Regions from separate parts of the Homo sapiens genome. Here region 2 is linked to region 1. The links are contacts of gene promoters, found by promoter capture Hi-C in human tissues and cell types (Jung and others, 2019). All regions are on one chromosome and are shown on one strand. Each heading gives the region's core, a stretch centred on a gene start or on the middle of the fragment in contact. The rest is flanking DNA. Distances are from core to core; before and after follow the strand shown. Region 1 holds the start of STX4 (syntaxin 4). Region 2 has its middle 25 kb from the start of ZNF267.

Evidence for each region. The method cuts DNA at HindIII sites, captures the fragments that hold promoters and counts their contacts. A contact is called where the count stands out against the background at its distance.
Region 2: a fragment that was not itself captured here is called in contact with the fragment with the promoter of STX4 in region 1 in 2 of the 25 tissues and cell types used here (lymphoblastoid cells and spleen).

What each region holds. Positions count from the first base shown.
Region 1 is chr16:31,029,479-31,036,580 of GRCh38, forward strand. It overlaps STX4 (syntaxin 4), which reads left to right and starts at 4,080. Exons shown (of 11, transcript NM_004604.5): 1 at 4,080-4,357; 2 at 4,535-4,636; 3 at 4,748-4,847; 4 at 4,984-5,058; 5 at 5,492-5,562. The coding sequence starts at 4,328. RefSeq lists enhancers at 3,404-3,915, 4,428-4,938. The HindIII fragment of the contact is 15,943 bases long and covers 1-4,953 here.
Region 2 is chr16:31,845,497-31,851,775 of GRCh38, forward strand. No RefSeq gene overlaps it. Among named protein-coding and RNA genes, the nearest start is that of ZNF267, 25 kb to the right of the region's middle. The HindIII fragment of the contact is 6,664 bases long and covers 1,501-6,279 here.

The sequences.
Region 1 (7,102 bases), core at 2,830-5,329:
GTGACAGCAAGCCCCCAAGGGTGGGTGGAACACGGGAAGCCACCCCAGCTGGTATTTTCCTTGGATCATAGTGTAGAAGTTAAGAAACACACCCCACCCCCCAACAGCTGCACAGTCTGGAGCGAATATACACGCCCACCACCCACACACCCAAGACCCAATACACTTTTTTAAACTTTATTTTTACTTCTATTTATTTATTTTTAATTATTTTTTAAAAATCTAATTAGAGATGAGGTCTTAGGCTGGGCACAGTGGCTCATGCCTGTAACCCCAGCACTTCGGGAGGCCGAGGCAGGCAGATCACGAGGCGGGAGGATCACGAGGTCAGGAGTTCGAGACCAGCCTGGCCAATATGGTGAAACCCCATCTCTGCTAAAAATACAAAAATGAGCTGGGCGCGGTGGTGTGCACCTGTAATCTCAGCTACTTGGGAGGCTGAGGCAGAATTGTTTGAACTCAGGAGGCGGATGCTGCAGTGAGCTGAGATCGTGCCACTGCACTCCAGTCTGGGAGACAGAGCGAGACTACGTCTCAAAACAAACAAACAAACAAACAACAACAACAAAAACAGAGATAAGGTCTTGGCATGTTGCCCAGGCTGGTCTCAAGTCCTGGGCTCAAAGGATTCTCCTGCCTCAGCCTCCCAAAGTGCTAGGATTACAGGCGTGAACCACTGCACCCACCCTACTTTTTTTTTTTTTTTTTTTTATACAGGATCTCACTCTGTCACCCGGGCTGGAGTGCAGTGGCAAGATCACTGCTGACTGTACCCTTGACCTCAGGGACTCAAGTGATCCTCCTGCCTCAGCCTCCTGAGTAGCTGGGACTACAGGAGAGCGCCAGCACACCTGGGTAATTAAGATTTTTTTTGTAGAGACAGACGCTATGTTGCCCAGGCTGCTCTCGAACTCCTGGCTTCAAGTGATACACCCTTGGCCTCCTAAAGTGCTGGGATCACAGGCATGAGCCACTGCACCTAGCCTAATATAGTTAATATCCCCGTCAAGGCTGCTCAGAGGGCCTGAGAGGAACAAAGGGCTCAGCTCTGGAGAGCTCCACCCCCAGCGCCAATCTCTCTAAATGGCCTCTTTCCTCTCCATATTCCACCACAAGGCTTGGAGTCCAGCTTCCTGTGACCTTAAGTCACCATTCCAAAGCCCTGCGATCTCACCCAGAGACCACAAGTGAAATAATATTATAATCCTGAGAAGTTTAGTGGACCAAGATGGCATGCCATCAAGACGCTGAGAAACAAAGAGGAAGATGGGACCAGGGGGCCCAGAAGACGCTGGAACCCACAGTATTAAAAGCTCAGAGAGGCTGGGCACAGTGGCTCACACCTGTAATCCCAGCACTTTGGGAGGCCAAGGTGGGTGGATCACTTGAGCCCAGGGGTTTGAGAACAGCCTGGGCAACATGGCGAAACCCAGTCTCTACCAAAAAATATACAAAAATTAGCCAGGCATGGTGGTGCGTGCCTTAGTACCAGCTACTTGGGAGGCTGAGGCAGGAGGATTGACTGAACCTGAGAGCACACCACTGCACTCCAGCCTGGATGACAGAACCAGACCTGACCTCAAAGAGAAGAAAAAAAAAAAAAAAAAAAAGCCCAGAGGGGAGGGTACCCTCAACAGTTTTCCAGCCCCTTCCACATCCTTCCTAACCTCACTTGATAGTGTTCAAGTCCTACCTTAGGCAAGGCAGAAATTATAGGACCAAGCCGCCAAATGGGGAAATTGAGTCCCAGAGAGAAGTAATGCATTATTTAAGATCCCATGCAGGACTATGAGTCAGGGGTCCAAGAGCCCTTCCACCGTGTGCCACTCAGAGACACAGAGTAGGAGGGGGAAGGGGGTCGGGTGGCAGGGGACAAAAGATGCAGGAGGCAAGCAGCAGTGACTGAAGAGGCAGAGGCTGACATGAAAGACCCAGGAGCAGAGAATCTTTCCTTATCATCTCCAGGGGACACCACTGGGCAGGGCTTGGCCTCCGGAAAAACCCTGCATTCCCTCTGTGGGTTCATCAGGGCACCACTCTCCTACTAGCTGGGTTTTTTTTTTTTGTTTTGTTTTGTTTTTGAGACAGAGTCTTACTCTGTCACCTAGGCTGGAGTGCAATGGCGTGATCTCAGCTCACTGTAACCTCCACCTCCCATGTTCAAGCAATCCTCCTGTCTCAGCCTCCCAAGTAGCTGGGATTACAGGCACCTGCCATCATGCCTGGCTAATTTTTGTATGTTTGTAGAGACAGGGTTTCGCCATGTTGGCCAGGCTGGTCTCCAACTCCTGGCCTCAGGTGATCTGCCTGCCTCAGCCTCCCAAAGTGCTGGGATTACAGGCATGAGCCACCACACCCTGCCTGAGCTGGGTTTTAACAGGAAGAGGAGAAGAGCCAAAACTCCTCACATAGAATCACACAGCACTTGACAGTTTCCAACCTCATCATCACTGAAGTTTAGAGCAGCCGATACCCATAAAGATGATCTCCCCATCCCCCTACAGTTACCCACTGTGCAGAGGGAGATCCACACTTAGAGACAGGAAGCGATTTCCAGAAGTCCATAGCAACTCAGTCCCAGGAATCTAGGTTTCCTGACCAGGGCATAGCAGAAAGGGTCCATTCCTTTCCTTGCTTGTACCTTCACAGAAGCTTCCTGGACAGAGCCCTGGGGTCCAGGAGACCTGTTATTCATTCCCGGCTATGCTGAGACTTGCTGAGTGACCTTGGGGACTCCTTCTAGAGAATATAAGTTCCACGAGTGCAGGAATTTTTGTCTATTAGTCCTTGATGTATCTCCAGCCCTAGAACAGTGTTTGGCCCATACTATGTGCCCAAAAAATATCCATTAAATGACTGAATGTTGCTGTGCATGGTGGTGCATGCCTGTAATCCCAGCACTTTGGGAAGCTGAGGCAGAAGGATTGCTTAAGCCCAGGAGTTAGAGACCAGCTTGGACAACATAGTGAGACCGCATCTCGTAAAAATTTTTAAAAATAAAAAATGAGTGAATATCTAGATAGCCAGGATTAGAGAAGTGTCACAGTCAGAAAGCCTGAAGCCTAAAGAAGACCAAGGAACCAGGGGCTTTATCCTCAGATACATGAAAGCCTGAAATTCTGTCCACAAGTATTTATAGAGGGCCCGTAATGTTCTTGGTACTGGGCTAGGAACTCCCCAGATTCAGTTAAGAACAAAGTCATTACCTGGCCTCAGATGCAAGGCAGGGGCTGGGGGGTGTGAGTGGCAGGGAGGCAGCGTGATCAATACAAACACTTTTCTTAGCCTGAGCTGCCCTGACATGGTCTGACGGCTCACAAGGTGGTGAGTGCAGCCGGGCTGCAGTGTTCAAGGAGGGCGCCGGCTGGCCGCCCACCTGTCAGAGGCTGCGCCAGAAGGATGCGGAAGAAGAGATTTCTGCCTTGGCTGAGGTCACTTCCCACCCCCAGATTCCCTGCCCACACAACCCTGCAATTTTCTGACGCTGACGACTCGGATCCTATTATTTCCCGATTTTCAAGGTCCCATGATGCTGACAGCCCCAAATGCTAAGTCGTCAGTCCGCCCACGCCCTGGACCCGAAAGCAATAAAGGCGAGGTCAGCAAGGGTCCTACCACCCACTGCCTCGAAAGGCCTCTGGGGGTGGTCGGCGCGCCCCTCCCCACCTCGCGGGGGCCGTGTGGGCGTCGCTCGGTCGTTGGGGTGCCGGGGACGTCGTGATGAGAACGGCGTCCCAGAGACGGCGGTGACAGAGCCGGGACACGTGACAGTCACAGGGTCACATTCTGCGGTCCACGAGTTTGGGACCGGGCTGGTCACGTGACGCGGTGGGGGCACCATGGGGTGATGTGAGATGCGGGTGTCTCGGATTACGTACAAATGACGTATTCCTACCCCTTTTGGCAACCAGATTTCCGTTGGAAGATGCAACGGTTCCGGTGACGGTAGCAAGTTCTCGCGTCCAGGCATCTCCGCTTCCGCTCGGGGCGCAACAACTTCCGACTCCACCTTCCCAGCCTCGGGCAAGGAAGAGACGCGACCATGTGCGCATGCCCCGAATTTATCACGGAGGGGCGGGGCTGAGGCTGCGGGAGCTGGAGCGGGGAAGAAAAGGGAATTCCAACCTGTGGAACCTTGGGGGGTCCCCGGGGTCGGCGCCTTCCCATTGACTGTGGGCGGTGCAAGGGACGGAGCCTCTGGCGGCTCGTGGGGGTGTTGGGGTCCGCAGGGGGAGGGAGGGGAGTGTCAGAGTGTGAGCGGGGTACGGGAATTCCAAATTTGAGGGCCTCCCGGCTCTGGCGCCGGGGAGGGAGAGCTCAGGCCGCCATGCGGGACAGGACCCACGAGCTGAGACAGGTGAGACGCCAGGGCAGCGGGGATGGGGACGGGCGGACGAACTGGAACGCAGGACTTCTGGTCTTCGGGATAGGGAGGGGTGGCTGATGGCCAGGAAGGAAAGTCCCGGAAGCCTGTGGGTCCTGCGGGGTAAGAGCCGCAGCGAAACGGTGGTGCCAATGACTCCGGGCCTGGCAGGGGGATGACAGCTCGGACGAAGAGGACAAGGAGCGGGTCGCGCTGGTGGTGCACCCGGGCACGGCACGGCTGGGGAGCCCGGACGAGGAGTTCTTCCACAAGGTAAGGGGCTGGGGTCTCCGCCTGGATTCGCGAGGGTGTAGGAGGACCCGAGGAGTAGCGTGGTCTGGAGTACCCCATATCTCTTTCAGCCCTCTCGGTCACCCTCCCCAGGTCCGGACAATTCGGCAGACTATTGTCAAACTGGGGAATAAAGTCCAGGAGTTGGAGAAACAGCAGGTCACCATCCTGGCCACGCCCCTTCCCGAGGAGAGTGAGTGAAACCCCGGCTGCAGGGCGCATGCTCCGCCCCAGGGATTGTGGGGGTTGTAGTTCCACGCAGGTGGTGGCCAGAGTGGTTTGTTGAGGTGGGGGCTGCTGTTTGGGAGTCTTGGCCTTCTCTTATTCAGGCATGAAGCAGGAGCTGCAGAACCTGCGCGATGAGATCAAACAGCTGGGGAGGGAGATCCGCCTGCAGCTGAAGGGTGAGCTCCTGGGACCTCAGACAGATCCTTCCCTCTGATCCTGCCCTGTTGTTGGTATATCTGGGGAGTGTGTGGCCCAGAGAAGCCAGTGATATATCCAGGTCACACAGCAGGCCTGGGTCTAGCATCTGTCTCCTGGCCTCCAGGCCATTGTACTCTCCACAGCACAAGTCCGCCTCTCAGGTTCTTTTATTTACAATGAAACCATTTACTTACACAGTTATCGCTGCCCACTGGGCATTCTTTGGGCAGGGAGATGGAGTTTTGTTAGGTGGCCTCTGCATACCTATGGGAACTCAGTGATGTAATGCAAAGAAAAATAAACTTACTTTCTCCTCTTAGAGGCTCAGCCTTAGTCATTTTATGATAAATTATATTTCCCTAAAAATCCTATGGAGACAAGTACCCCCAATACCCCTGTGTCTTCCCACAGCCATAGAGCCCCAGAAGGAGGAAGCTGATGAGAACTATAACTCCGTCAACACAAGAATGAGAAAAACCCAGGTGGGTTTTTTTTCTCAGAAATGAGGACATTTCAGCAAATGTTTCATGAAGTATTAGATGACAGGTGTATGAAGGAAGGGCCTGCAGAGATCATGGAGTCCAATTGGATGACTTTTCCAAATGGGGAAACTGAGCTCAGAGAGAGAAAGAACTTGCTCAAGGTCAGGAAGCCAGGTCTCCTGATGCTCAGTCCGGTTATAACACCCTGCTTTATTTTCTTCCATTCAATAGGAAGTTACTGTGACCCCAGACAAGACCTAGTCTTGGCTGTGGGACACATGTTTTCTTTTCTTTTTTTGCCTCAGCCTCCTGAATAGCTGGGATTACAGGCGGACACCCCCATGCCCAGCTAATTTTTGTAGTTTTAGTAGAGACTGGGCTTCACCATGTTGGCCAGGCTGGTTTCGAACTCCTGACCTCAGGTGACCCTCCTGCCTCGGCCTCCCAAAGTGCTGAATTACAGGCGTGAGCCACCATGCCCAGCTGGGACACATGTTTTCTGGGAGTCAAGATGAGGAGTTAGGGTTCAATAGGGGATAAAGACATTACTCACGTGGGACCTGGTGGCTAACGGCGCTGCCCAGGGAAGGAGAGTGAGAAGTCATAAATGACTGGCAGGTTTCCTATCTATGTGACAGGGACATCCTTAGTCCCACAGGTGGAATTCAAGAAGTCAGGAAGAGGAACTTCCTTGGGGCAACACTGAAGAGGAACTCCCCTGGTGTGATATCTTATTTTTTTAATTATTATTATTTTTTTGAGATGGAGTCTCACTCTGTCCCTCAGGCTGGAGTACAGTGGCACAATCTTGGCTCACTGCAACCTCCACCTCCTTCAAGCGATTCTCCTGCCTCAGCCTCACGAGTAGCTGGGATTACAGGTGTGCACCACCACACCTGGCTAATTTTTTATATTTTTGGTAGAAATGAGGTTTCACCTTGTTGGCCAGGCTGGTCTCGAACTCCTGATCTCAACTGATCCACCTGCTTTGGCCTCGCAAAGTGCTATGATTATAGGCATGAGCCACCGCGCGCGGCCCCTGGGGTGATATCTTAGTAAGGAGATTTGCAGTGATCTGACTGGCCCTCTCTGGGTCCCCAGTGAGGAGGATACCAGGAGGTCAGGGTTGGAGTAGTTGGGCCCAGGGCTCAGCAGGGACCCCAGATTGAAGATGGAGCAGCTTGGGCATCTTGGAAGGGTGAAGCTGGAACCAGGAAAGCAGATGTATCTCTGGAAAAGGAACTCCAAGGAATGAGCATATTTAAGGCCTCAGAAGAAGGGGCAAGGCAGAGCAGATGCCCCAGAACCAGTGTTTCTGGGGAAGCCTGTGGTGGTGATTGGCATGAGTGGTTGAGGGTCCATGTGGGCCTGTTGCACCTGTTTCGCCCAGGCAACATGTTCATCTCTAGGCGTAGGAGCTGTGGTGTAGGCAGCGAGGTTGGCATTCAGCAAGCATTCAGCAGTTACATATTGGGTGCCTACTGTGTGCCAGACCTTTTTGGAACTGTTTAGGATACAGCAGTGAACCAGTGATCCCTGT
Region 2 (6,279 bases), core at 3,583-6,082, 820 kb after region 1:
GCTGGTCGCTTAAGACTCCTGGACTCAAGTGATCCTCCCGCCTCAGCCTCCCAGTGTACTGGAATTACAGGCATGAGCCACTGCATTATTAATATATAAATACATCAAACAAATGTATCGGGGATTCCAGTGGATTCTAAATGGAGTTGGACAGTTGGATGTGCCCGGAATACTGGTAGGCATGGGCCGCCCATTTGCATTTGTAGGAGAACCGAAAAATATCCAGAGGGCAAAACCCTTTAGGAGCTGCAAGAAGCAGGCTCTAGAGGAGAGTAAGGCAAGTGAGGCATCCAGGGCACATTTAAGGAGGCCCCACTCTCAGGAGCTGACCCTGCACTTTCATGAACCTGAGAGTGAGGGCTTTGTTAAAATTCCCACTGACTCCTCCTTTGTCTCACCAAGTCCCAGCCCTGGTAAGAAGCCAGACGTGTCCAGCTTGTTCCAGTGGTCGGAGCAGGGGTACAGAATTTTATCATAAGACCACGTTGTAGCTACTAACAGGAGTAAAAAGAAAGAATTTATACAATGATGTAGCAGGCATTTGTAATACAATGTGAGTATTTTGTTTTACAGATGAGGGGGTCTTGCTATGTTGCCCAGACTGGTCTTGAATGCCTGGCCTCAAGTGATCCTCTCACCTCAGCCTCCCAAAGTGCTGGGACTCAGGTGTGAGCAAATTGCTTGGTCTTGATGAGGGTGAGGGTCATGCTTAAAGTCCAGCTGAGAGTCATCGTGAGGATCAGAGTGGGGGTCAGTGTCAGAGTGAGGATGAGGAGGAATGTGAGACAAACATTCAGAGCCAGGGTCAGGGCGAGAGTCAGAGTCAGTTTCAGTGTCAGAGTTCATCTCAGGGTGAGAAAAACTTAGTTCCAGGGTTAGGCTGAGTGTCCAGTTCAGGCTCAGCATAAGTTTCAGATTCACAGTAGGTTCAAGGACATGGTGAAGGTATGGATAAGGGTCCTTGTAGAGTCAGGTGAGGTCAGGATCAGGGATACTGTAAGGGTCAAGTCAGGGTCAGTGGAAAGTAAGCAGCAGAGTCAGGGTCAGGCAAGGGTCAGATTTATGGTCATGATGAGGGTCGTGGTGACGTTAAGATTCCAGGCCAGGGGAGGGTCAAGTTGAGTGCCACCGCAAGGTTACCTTCAACGTTTGGGTCAGGATTAAGGGTGAGGCTAAAACTGAAGACCAAAGTGAGGGTCAGGGTCAAGTACAGAATCGGGGTCAGGGTAAGAACAAGATAGAGTGTGTAAGTGACAATCAGGATCAGAGTCAGGTGAGTGTCACAGTCTGACACAAGGTGAGAGTGAGAACAAGGTAAAGCTCAGGCGTGGAGGAGGGAGAGGTGTCAGAATGACAGCAAGGTCAGAGTCAAGGTGAGAGTGTATGCTTCAAGGTCAGGAGTCATGATTAAAGGCCAGGCACAGTGGCTCACACCTGTAGTCCTAGTGCTTTGGGAGGCTAAGGTGGGAGGCTTGCTGGAGGCCAGGAGTTCAAGACCAGCCTGGGCAACATAGAAACACAGCTGGCAACATCAGGGAAGGGAATTACCTTTCCTGGCTAAATAAGTTTCATGAAAATTATTTGTGAAATGTACAAATGGCAAGAGAATAATGTTAAGGTCCAGACACCTCTAAAAAACTGAAACGCATCTACTACTCTTTAGCAATTTAACTTAAGAGTATGGTGCATCTGGAAGTACAATACTCGCTGTGGACATTCATAATCTGAAGACATTTTATTCTTGGCTCAACTGAGGAAACACATGGGCATGAGAAATGTCACTGCAGAGGTAGGGGACAGAAACACACTGGAGGAATTTGATCCAAAATACTGTGCCAGAAATTTTTGGAAGCCTTAAAATCCTGGTTGGCAGTGGGTTTTTCTAACTACCAGAACTGAAAAGTTATGATTAAAATATAACACTTTCTTTTTCTAAAGACTTTAAGATCTTTTACCATTAAATCTCTGTGCCACACATTAATGAGAAGTTCACAATCATATGAATTGCACCAATTATTTTATTAGGAAGGAAATGGAGGGCATATCCTCTGTGCTCAGGAACTCTGATCAAGATTAATAAAGACCCATGCTCTCACACATCTTTCTCGTCTACCTGAAATGCAAGACACATTTTAAGGAAAACTCAAACTCCTCTAGTGAGCAGGGACAGAGAAGTTTTGTACTGATCAAGTTTTTTGAGGTTTTGATGCCCTTGTGAGCCACAGATAATTGACAATTTCTGTCATTATCATTTTATTCCTTTTGTTTTCAAGTGTCCTGATTGTGTCCTCTGTTTTCCATTTTAAAGACACATAGACACTAGAAGGCACTAACCTTATTGAATTTAGATAATGTTAACTTGTAAATTTCAACAGTTAACTTGAAACGAACTTGTCAGTTTTTGCAAATACATGTTTTACTGAGTTAACTATAATTGAAACCTTAAGGGAAAAAAGTAGGGATAGTGAATTTAGAGGATTCTTAAAATAATGTGTGAATGCTGTGTCATTCAAGTTTGCAAATCATTACTTTACAACATCCTTATCTAAATAGTCTTATATTATTGGAAATACACTAAGTACTTTCAACCAAAAAAACAGAGCATAATTAAAGAATTCTGAGTTAGTTCAGATTATTGTGCCTTAAAACATAAAACTTTCCATAAATGCATAAAAATAATTTATTGTTGTATTAATTTATTATGAGAAATAGTCAAGTAAAATTTCAATTCAAATATACTATAGAAAGTAAAAAGTTTTTTCTTCAAAGTTTCCCTTCTTGTTAAAGAATAAATCATAAGCATTAGAAATAACAGTTTCTTTTAAAGACTAACTTCCTTCAAGCCTCCTTACTTTGTGCTAATAACTCTTCGTTAAGCCCTATCCTATGTAGCTTTAGACATTCTCACAGGCACATAGTACATTCTATGTCTTCGTACCTTAACCAAGACATCTGTGCTGGACGTGCTCACTGGCATGTCCCAGCTCACAACCTATGCCCCTTCCTTAGTTGGGAACGTTATTAATTTTCTAAGTCCTTTTATAAGCAACTTCCTCTTTTCCTTTGTCTTTCCATTGCTTTTACCTATTTAGAAAAGTTTTAAGTTATTTGCCAATTGGGTTTTAGCTTAAATTGTGAGGTCTGGCTCCAGTCAATGAAGATAGGACACAGTAGCAGGGACAAGCTGCATAAAGGATAAAAATTGCTTCCCTCCTTTGTTCAGGTGTGCTCTTGCCATTGTTCCATCTGTGAGGAGCACCCTTTCTGCAGAAAGTAAAATTGCCTTGCTAAGAAAACTTTTTGTCTGAATGCTGATTTTTCCTTGCAGTACTGAGGAACAAGCATTCTGTTTCTAAATAAACATTTTACATGTAACAAAATGGTGGCCCATACATTCTCCTCTGGGGTCGGTCTCTAGTCCTCTCTCATGAGGAGGGGCCCCACTGCCTCATTGCGGTGGCCTTATGGGTAAGGAATCAAAACCCACCCAGCATGACAAATAAACCCAGACTCTCAGCAGTGCAGAAAGAAACCAGTTGGCAACCTGGAGTAAAGGATCCTTACATACCATGTAGACTGGGCGACCTTGTGCATGAGCCAAACAACGAAAACACTGGAGGAGCAGTTAAAGTATTTCCTTGGTGGTCAGAACTAAGGAAAAAAAGCCGTGGGGTGGTAAAGCATTCCTTGGTTAAAGCACACCAAGGTAAAAGAAATTGCAGGGGCGGTAAAGCATGCCTTAGTCAAGACAGAGGAAAGAAAAGCTGCGGGGCTGGGGGGCGGTGAAAAAATCCTTAGTTGGGTTGTCTTAGAGGTTAAAAAAAGGGGTGAAAAATCCCCATTGGGGGAGATTAAAGATCACACAAACCTCCGGTAGTAAACAAATATATTCAAAACTTCCCTTTCCCTTCTTCTTGGGGGAAGAAAAACGCTAAGCTCCACACCCACTGGCTGCTCCCTAGGGGAAGGGGAAAGAGAGGGGAAAATAGCAGCATGGGCAGCTGGCAGAGGCAGGGAAAGACCAGCAGACAGAGAAAGAGAAGGGCAGATACAAAAAGCAAAAATCTGTTGGCAAGTTCCAAAGTTTTCTAAAAGAGGTAAAAGGAAAAAGTCAGGGAATTCAGGAATGCAAAAAGAAAGAAGGCAAGGTCAGTACTTTAAAGGAGAAGGTAAAAATAAATGGTGTAAGGGCTGTGGATATAAAAGTAAGGAGGAAAAACAAGGGGACCCTCTGGCCCAGGGTTAATAACTCATGCAACTTATGGCAGGCATCTGCTGAGCCTCTAGGCTGACAGTGGCCCAGGGCACGGACTGCAGCCATGAAGATCCCACCCAACAAGTAAGTGTGAGAGAAAGAGGAAACAGGAGGTGACAGAGAGAAGGAGAAAACGCAAATGAAGGAGAGAGATAGAAGGAAAAAATAAGTAAAAAAAAAAAAAGACTGGAAAAAACAAAGATAAAAAAACACAAAAAATAAAACTAGGGAAAAAATAGTGTAAAAAAAGTCTAAAAGTTTATCTAAAAGTTAAGGCATGTCAAAAATTGTAAAAGTCCTAAAAAATTTTATAAAAGGGAATTTATGCAAAAAATTATATAATTTAAAAATAATTAAGCCTCCTAAATGTAAAACTATTAAAGAAGCAACTTGTGTGCAAGGTATATAAGGAAAGTAAAATATACTTTTAGAAAAAAATTATAAGAAAACATAAGAATGTGAATTTTTACCTACATTAACATTTTTTAAATAGATGCTAAAGAAAATTCAGAAGGAAAATAAATATTGCTAAACCAAAATTAAAAAAATGTTATCCAAACCCCTTATTAAAAAAATCTTGTTCCAACTGCATCAAAAAACCCACTGGGGCTCTCCAGCACAGGTTTAATACCAACAAGTTTCCACCTCCAGCGGCTCCTACAGAGGCTGCAGTGAGAGCCTGCGAGGGCGTGGGGGGGACAAACACTACAGGTGCAAGGGAGGGGGCCAAACAACTGTCAGACAGCACAGCCCAGCCCAGCCCAAGGCCAGGGGCTAGACAGTGGGGTCTCTGGCAGGAGCAAGGTCTGGGGGCAGTGCGGTAAGTCACAAGGACCCTCATCCCCACAAGGCCGCAATGCATGGTAGCAGTAAAGGCCGCAGGGAAGCCGGGACCTTAAGAGGGGCCAGGGCCACAGCATCCCCTAGGCTACATTGAACGGGAATGAAGCGGGAGGCGTCACCGTGGGGCTTCGGGCCCCAGGATATGCAAAGTTCTAACTTTCTGAGGGACCCCAAATTTTCCCTCAAAAACAACATAAGTAAAAATTAAAAAAGGAAATTTAAGTCAAAAACTACCTATAGGTTGCCTTACTTACATTCCACGGCTGATATCCGCACATTTAAAACAACAACAAAAAAATCAGTTTCTCAAAAATTACATACTTATTTTCCACTTTCCTTTTCCTCAAAACTAAAAGTCTTCTAGCACAGGTGCCACTCTTAAAATTTCCAGTAAACCAGCACCAGCCTGGAAACCATGTCCTTATCAAAGGATAAAAAGAAGAAAAACTCAAGCCAGCCTAAGAAAAACCCTACCTTGTGCTGCTAACCCACCAAGACTGCGGTTCCCACAGCAGAAGAGAATGAACACCACATACCCGAGTCAAAAAAGCGTCATCACCGTCAAAGTCATAGGCCGTTGTTCCAGGGTTAAGCCCTACCAAGTTAAAGCTATAAAAACGTAATCTATCTATCTTTTTTCTTTTCTTCCCTTTAACTACTTCCTATCTTATTAATATAACTAAATCTAACTCACCTCAAGTTACTACTTTTAATGCCTGTTTAGTTATCACTCCTCCCAGACACAAAAACAAGACCAAAGTCTCTACAGTAAAAATAAAAAACCTAAAGCAAACAATAACAATTAAAACAGGATATCAAAATGTAAATGGCTGGTTAAAATAAATTAAATATTTCATCTGCATCTAAATAAAAGTGACCGTTAAACACGTGTGCATGGTAGGCTAGAGGCCCAGGTTGTCCCCTTTCCACTCAAATAGTCCTCTAATCAACAAAACATGGACTACATGGTAGCTCCTTTTCAAAATCCTACAGCCTGAGATAATAAACTGTGTCAAACGCTCTCGCTACTATTTCCTAAAATGCAGTACCCTGCGGGTCAGCCCCCGAGGGCCATCTAGCCTCCATCTTCCAAGACCAATTTTACCTGGTGTCTCCAACAACAAGGGAAAAATTTAGTGTTCCTTGAAAACTTAATGCAGTGAAGTCAGGCACTTCCAAGA